Regions from separate parts of the Homo sapiens genome. Here region 2 is linked to region 1. The links are contacts of gene promoters, found by promoter capture Hi-C in human tissues and cell types (Jung and others, 2019). All regions are on one chromosome and are shown on one strand. The core of a region is centred on a gene start or on the middle of the fragment in contact, and the rest is flanking DNA. Distances in the headings are between cores, read along the strand shown. Region 1 holds the start of PSTPIP2 (proline-serine-threonine phosphatase interacting protein 2). Region 2 overlaps SLC14A2 (solute carrier family 14 member 2).

Region 1 (3,075 bases), core at 126-2,625:
ATGGTTCTGCCAGGCTTCTCTGCCTTCCTTCTAATCTCACTGCTTTCAAAGGATATGAGCAAGTACGTAAATGGATGCATCCCTTGGAGATGCTTGGTGGCTGGAGGCCACCTCTCCATCTTTGCAGTTGTGGATGACTTTATTGGTGGGAGTTCATCTGAGTGGGGCTGGCTGCAGTTTTATGGAGCAGAACTTGTTCCAGGTGCTTCACATAATTCTAGCAATTGCCCTTTCACTGTGTCTGGGTGTAGCTAGAACCTGCTCCAGGGGTGAGTGCTTGCTTCTCCAGGCTGGGCTGGTGCCAGTCTTGGCAACCTTGACCTTTATCCTCCCCACTTTGAGCACCTATTCCTCTGCCCAGGATGGATCTGCCCCAGGAAGGATGTCTGTCTTTGCATCTATTTAGAAGGGCAGAGCTCTAACCTTGAGCTCTTCATCCCTTAAATAAACTGTGATCTTGGGCAAGCCATTCAACCCCTCTGGGCCTCAGGTTGGGCTTCGGGCCTGTCGCACCAGGCAGTACTTTGTCATAAGCCCTGCATTACTATTAAAAGTCATGGCAAAAACCGCAATTACTTTTGTACCAATCTACTACAATGCAGAGAGGGGTCTGACCTGCCCTGGGGTTTTATTTGTGAGGGTGGAAGAGTGGAGGGAGAAGAAGGAATCTTGGGCCCCTCTTGCTGGGGTGGAATGGGCAGGGAAGGGTCTTGCCTTTTGAGAATGGAAAGGGAGTCAGAGAGCGGCTGAGCTCCTGGAAGCCCTGTTAGGACACCACCAAGTGACTAGAGTCAAGGGGAAACAGCAGAGATGACCTCTCCATGACATTTTAGACTAAAACGTGACCCCATTCATTAAAAACACCTGCAACAACAAAAAGTAAAATAAAAAATGAACCGTCCCCCAGGGCCTGATCTGCAGCAGGTGCCGGTGGGGCCCGCCGTGAAGCCAAGGCGTCTGCGGGAGTTGTCGGCCCCAGGCCTTCTGTAGCTTAAACCGGGTCCTCGCGACCATCTGATCAGATCCCGTCTATCACCCCGCAGAGCCTGGATTTCGTGCTGTCCAGGGGGCCTTGTGGGCAGGAACCCAAGCCAGGACCAGTTATTTCCAATACCCAAAGACTTCCAGAAGGAGGCAGCTAGCTTCGGGCTGATATATTGATCGTGGCCCGACGCTGTGGGGCTTTAAATGGGCCTGGGTCCGGGTGCGGGCTGCAGCCCCTGGCCGGGTGAGCGCCGAGGGTCCCGCCCAGGTCTCGCGCAGGGAGCGCAGAGCGCCGACGGCGGCCGTCGCAATCGGGAGTGGTTTAGGACCCGGGGGCGGCTTCCCTGCGCGAGTGTGGAACGCAGAAGTTGAGTCTGCGGAGCCGCGGGCAGTGGCAGTCAGGCCTCCCCGCTCTGTGCTACCTGCGGCCCGGCTCTCCTCCGCGCCCCCACTCGCGCTGCGATGACGCGCTCACTGTTCAAGGGAAACTTTTGGGTAAGTCGTGGGGCCGACAGCGGATCGCGGGGCTCAGGACCCGGCCCGGGCGGGAGGCCAACGCGGCGGGCGTGGGGGGCTCCCCAGCTCCGGCGCCACTCGGTGACCGCGCGCCCGGGGGCTTGGCGGAGCTCGCGCGTGAAGGGATCGGGGCCCCAGCCCCACTGCTCGAGGGGCAGACTTGGAGCGGACGCCGGGCTGCTGTTCCCTCTCTGTCCCCCGCTACCCACCGCGTGCCCGCGAGTCCCGGGGGCTCGGACTCCAGGGCCCACCCTCTGCCGCCCGCGCCCCCAGCAGCGCGTGCTCCTGAGGACGCAGAGAGCCGAGACACCTTAGAGTCAGGACATCAACCCCTCCTCTCACAGGCGAAGCAGAGACCCTTAGGGAGGCGAGACCCGTCCGGGGAGAGTCTCTGCCGGTCCCTGGAGCTGAGCCGTGAGAGGATCTGGGGGGATCTGGTGTGGGGGCTTGTGAGCTTTACCGGGTTGACAGCAGCAGCTGCCCCCCGGGATCGTCCTTTCCAGGAAACGTACAGCATAGAGGGCTTCCCTTTGCTGGAGCTTTCCCTGTTCTACAGCCTTGTTTCCCGAGCCCCCTCCCCAGGCCATTGCCCCAGCCCTTCCGTCCAGGCCCCATAGCGGGGCTGATGGTGTGGGAGACCCTATAAGCTGGAGGGGGTACCCCACCCAGCCCGGTAGGGCCAGCCCAGCCTGGAGGGAGCAGGTCTGCCTGTCCCCCTCCTCTGTCTAGTCCTCTTCCCTCTGTCCTCTCACTCCCCAGGTGCCCCTCAAGGTCCATGCCCCCTCATTCAGAGGAGCTGTCCTCATCCCTTTAAGACAGGAGCAGGAGGCTGCAAACCTCAAAGTTGACCGCAGCTGCCAAGGGGCCCTGACTCCTTACTGGGGCTCCTGCTTGCCTCCCCCCACCACCCACCCAGGTAGCTTCACAGCTGCCTAGATGGTCCCTCTACCCCACGTGGGCTGCAGGGTAGAGAAACCTGGCTGGGGACCTCAGGGACACAGTTGAGACTGTGCCTGTGAGTCCCTTCACTGGAGTTTGTGAGGTCCTTCTGGGGCACTACTCACCCTAGGGTGCAGGGTGGTGGCAGCCTCACAGAGGAACCAAGGGCACCACAGATGGCTCTCACGGGAGGCTTGCGAGTTTTTCAGGTAGAATGGAGGACTGGGGGATCCCATGGCAGGCACTGTGGGAAAAAGGCTCTGTATAATACAAACTGGAGAATGAGATGTGGGCCCCAGAAATAAGGAAGTCAGCAGAGGAACTGGTTCGTGGAGACATAAGGAGAAGGAGGCAGACGTGATACTAACAGTATTTAGTTCAGGCACAGTGGCTCATGCCTGTGATCCCAGCACGTTGGGAGGCCGAGGTAGGAGGATTGCTTGAGGCCAGGAGTTCGAGACCACCCTGGGCAACATAGTGAGACTCTGTCTGTCTCTACAAAAAAATCTTAAAAATTAGCTGGGCATGGTGGTGCATGCCTGTAGATATAGTTACTTGGGAGGCTGAGGCAAGAGGATTGCTTGAGGCCAGGAGTTTGAGGTTGCAGTGAGCTATGATCACATCACTGCACTCCAG
Region 2 (3,197 bases), core at 385-2,884, 430 kb after region 1:
ACAGTTGGTCTTGGTTACTGCTCCCGCCCCTACCCCTGTGTCTCTCCAGCATCCTCAGCTCCAGGGGCTCAGTTTGCAGGCCAACTTGGTTCTTACCCCCTTGCATCTCTCCACATGTATTTTTTTTTTTTTTAAGACGGAGTCTCACTCTATTTCCCAGGCTGGAGTGAGGTGGTACGATCTTGGCTCATTGCAACCTCCACCTCCTGGGTTCAAGTGATTCTCCTGCCTCAGCTCCCCAAGTAGCTGGGATTATGGGTGCCCACCACCACACCCAGCTAATTTTTGTACTTTTTTTTCTTTAGTAGAGATGGGTTTTCACCCTGAGTTCAGGTCATCTATGTGCCTCGGCCTCCCAAAGTGCTGGGATTACAGGCATAAGTCACCGTGCCTGTCTCCCTGAAAGTATTTAAAACTGCAGGGAAGAGAATGTCTGGAAGATTTGCTGTATGTAGGGGAAAAGTGACCTTGAGTGAATTATCCTGAGGACCTGAAGAGAGGGAGCTCTGTCCTACCTGCTAGCAGCCCCACGATTGAGCCAATGGCTGCATGCAAGCAGATGAGTGGCGAGGAGATGAACAGAGCCACCAGGAACACGCCGCCTGTCCAGGGATTGTCACAGCCATACACCTGGCCGACCCCAACAGGGATGGCTTGTAACAGCTGCAAAGTTAACAGAATACAGGTCACTGGAGCATGGACAATAATGCAAAAACCAGACTCAGGGCCAGATTTGAGCCATTCCTCGGGGGAGTAATGGAGTGGAACGGGAGGATGACTGTACCCTCCAGCATGTGAGAGAACATGGGAGGCATGAGCTGGAACAAACAGCTCCTCACTCTACCACCCAGCAGGCATGTGAGCATCCCTCATGCAAAGCCAGGGCCCCCAACATGGGCTGGGCATGGATGCTTCTGAGGAACATACGGCTTCTGCTTTGAGGGGACCAGAATGCACCTCCTCCCTAGAATGCCGCTGGGAGTTTCAGGGCTCTCGGGGATTTCCTCTAGACCTTCTGAAATCCATACAAATATTCTAGGAATATTGAAAATACAGTAGGCCATTTTGATGTATGATTTGACTAAAAGTCACCCAGCCTGTTGTTGGTCAAGTGCAGGCTAGAGGCTCTGAGCTTGACCCCTAGCTCAGGTCTGAGGTCTTTGTCACCCTTGCTGTCTCTTTGTCAAGCCACTGCTGACACGTCCTCTTTGGCGGCCCCTGCCCATTCACTGCTACCCTGGGGGGTTGTGAGCCTTTGGAAAGGAGCAGTAGGCATGCCCCCTGCTCTCGAAGACCGCATAGCATTGTAGAAAGGTAGTATGTGGCACATCTGGAGAATGGCCTGAAGCCCAGACATCCCTGAGCCTGAGAGTAACTTGGTGCTGGAATTGGGGAGAATTTGTTTGGCAGTGCTGACAGATGGCTTTTCTGTGGCCAGGCTGAATTGTCGATATTTTTGGAGTCCTTTGAGGGCAGAAAAAGAAAGGAGGGAGAATGGCAGGGCAGGCAGAGCACTGGCCTGGGAGTAGAGGGCTCTAGCTTCCATCAGGGCTCTGCACAGTTCACTGTGTGACTGTGAGCATGTCACATCCTCGTCTGTAACAAGAGGCTGGCTTGGCAGATGATCTTCCAGCTTTAAGACTCTGTAGTTCTTTTCACCATTGCCAGGTCACATGACCTCTGTGAGGACAGGGCCCTTTATGCCCAGGTACACCATAGGTGCTTAACAAATAGGAATTGATTAGGTCAGTGGTTCCCAAACTTTGCTGTACAGTGGAATCCCCTGGGAATCTTTAAACAAATACTGATGCCCAGCTCTTCCCTAGACATTCTGATTTAATTGATATGGGGCATGGCAGGTCCTCAGGTGAGTCTAGTGTGCGATGGGAGATTAGTTATAGATGATCTACTGTAGACGTTGCTGTAGATGTTGGGAATAATTTAGTTTCTCCCTTTGGACCAAATTTTGTACTTTTTGACAATTTGATTTAATTCTGGAATAAGTATGATTTCTTCAGGGAGTAGTATTTGAAGAGCCTAGAGGGCTCTTAAACTTTGCTCACTCTTGTCTCTGAATGAATGGTCTTTTAATAACCAAATGCTGTTTGGACCAGAGTTTATAATCTTGCGAAAGGAATGGCAAGGGAGGGGTACTCAATCATATTTATTTATAGAAACCCAGAAAACACTTTGTACCAGACCAGGGAACTCAGCTTAAATGTTGGGAACAGGCTGGAAGTCTATTTAATAAATATCCCATGATTGCCAACATCTGAGGAATGCGGGATGCTGAGGGGAGTTCACGTCCACCTTTCCATCCGGGAACGCAGATTTTAAGCCCAAGCGGTCAAGAATGAGAGGAATGAGGGAATGAGTGGCCTTGGAATGGAGCCTGGGTTTAGAATGAAGCTTCCTCCGCTGGGATCTATATTTCAGCCTGGTGAGCTGTGCCCCAGGGCGGCCTTCCCTCCCAGCACGCTGCTCCCAGGCCGCAGCTGACACCCTGGTGTGAAGGGCAGTCAGGTGTGCCATGGAAATTTACTAAGCACCAGGCCTTCTTCACACTCCTCATAATTCTTATATAGCAACAATAAGCTGATTAAACAAAAAGGAAAAGGAAGGCCTTTCTCTGTTGTTTCAAAGAGAAAGAGGGAAGTGGCCTGGGAGCAGCGTGCTGGGGACCTCTCTAGTCTTGACAATAAAAATGTCTCCAGACATTGCCTAATGTCTCCAAGGGGCAAAATTATCCCTGCCTGAGAACCACTAAGAGAGAGAGTATATAAAAATTAACCCTCTGTCTTCTATGCTAATGCCTTTAAAATCCCAATTTTAAATGTTTATTTTAGTATCTTGCCCCTTTATCTGACTATACATTTTATCTAATATCTTTCACTCAACCACCACAGTTCTGTACTGTCAACGCTTATCTGTTCACTTGCATGTTATCTGTTTCCCCGTATAGAATGTAGGCTTCCTAAGAGCAGGATGTCATTGTCTTGTATTATCAGTATCTGAAAAAGTGTCCAGGCCATGTTACATGCTCAATAAGTACTGTTGAAAGGATCTATGGATGTGGCAGCAACCCTTTCTGATACCCTGCTGAGGCCCATCATCTGGTATAGATGTTTCTAGAGAAGTTGAGAGCATGGATAGTCCACAAATTGGTTGGCGAGAAGGTCTGCAGTGGAATATGGGGG

Evidence for each region. The method cuts DNA at HindIII sites, captures the fragments that hold promoters and counts their contacts. A contact is called where the count stands out against the background at its distance.
Region 2: a fragment that was not itself captured here is called in contact with the fragment with the promoter of PSTPIP2 in region 1 in 2 of the 25 tissues and cell types used here (H1 embryonic stem cells and aorta).

Annotation. Positions count from the first base shown.
Region 1 is chr18:46,070,560-46,073,634 of GRCh38, reverse strand. It overlaps PSTPIP2 (proline-serine-threonine phosphatase interacting protein 2), which reads left to right and starts at 1,375. Exons shown (of 15, transcript NM_024430.4): 1 at 1,375-1,479. The coding sequence starts at 1,447. RefSeq lists silencers at 1,080-1,239, 1,370-1,419, 1,460-1,839 and enhancers at 969-1,470, 2,690-2,749, 2,790-2,889. The HindIII fragment of the contact is 22,245 bases long and covers 1-3,075 here.
Region 2 is chr18:45,637,212-45,640,408 of GRCh38, reverse strand. It overlaps SLC14A2 (solute carrier family 14 member 2), which reads right to left. Exons shown (of 20, transcript NM_007163.4): 7 at 516-663. All of the region lies in intron 7 of LOC105372093 (a long non-coding RNA gene), which reads left to right. Among named protein-coding and RNA genes, the nearest start is that of SLC14A2, 23 kb to the right of the region's middle. The HindIII fragment of the contact is 5,893 bases long and covers 1-3,197 here.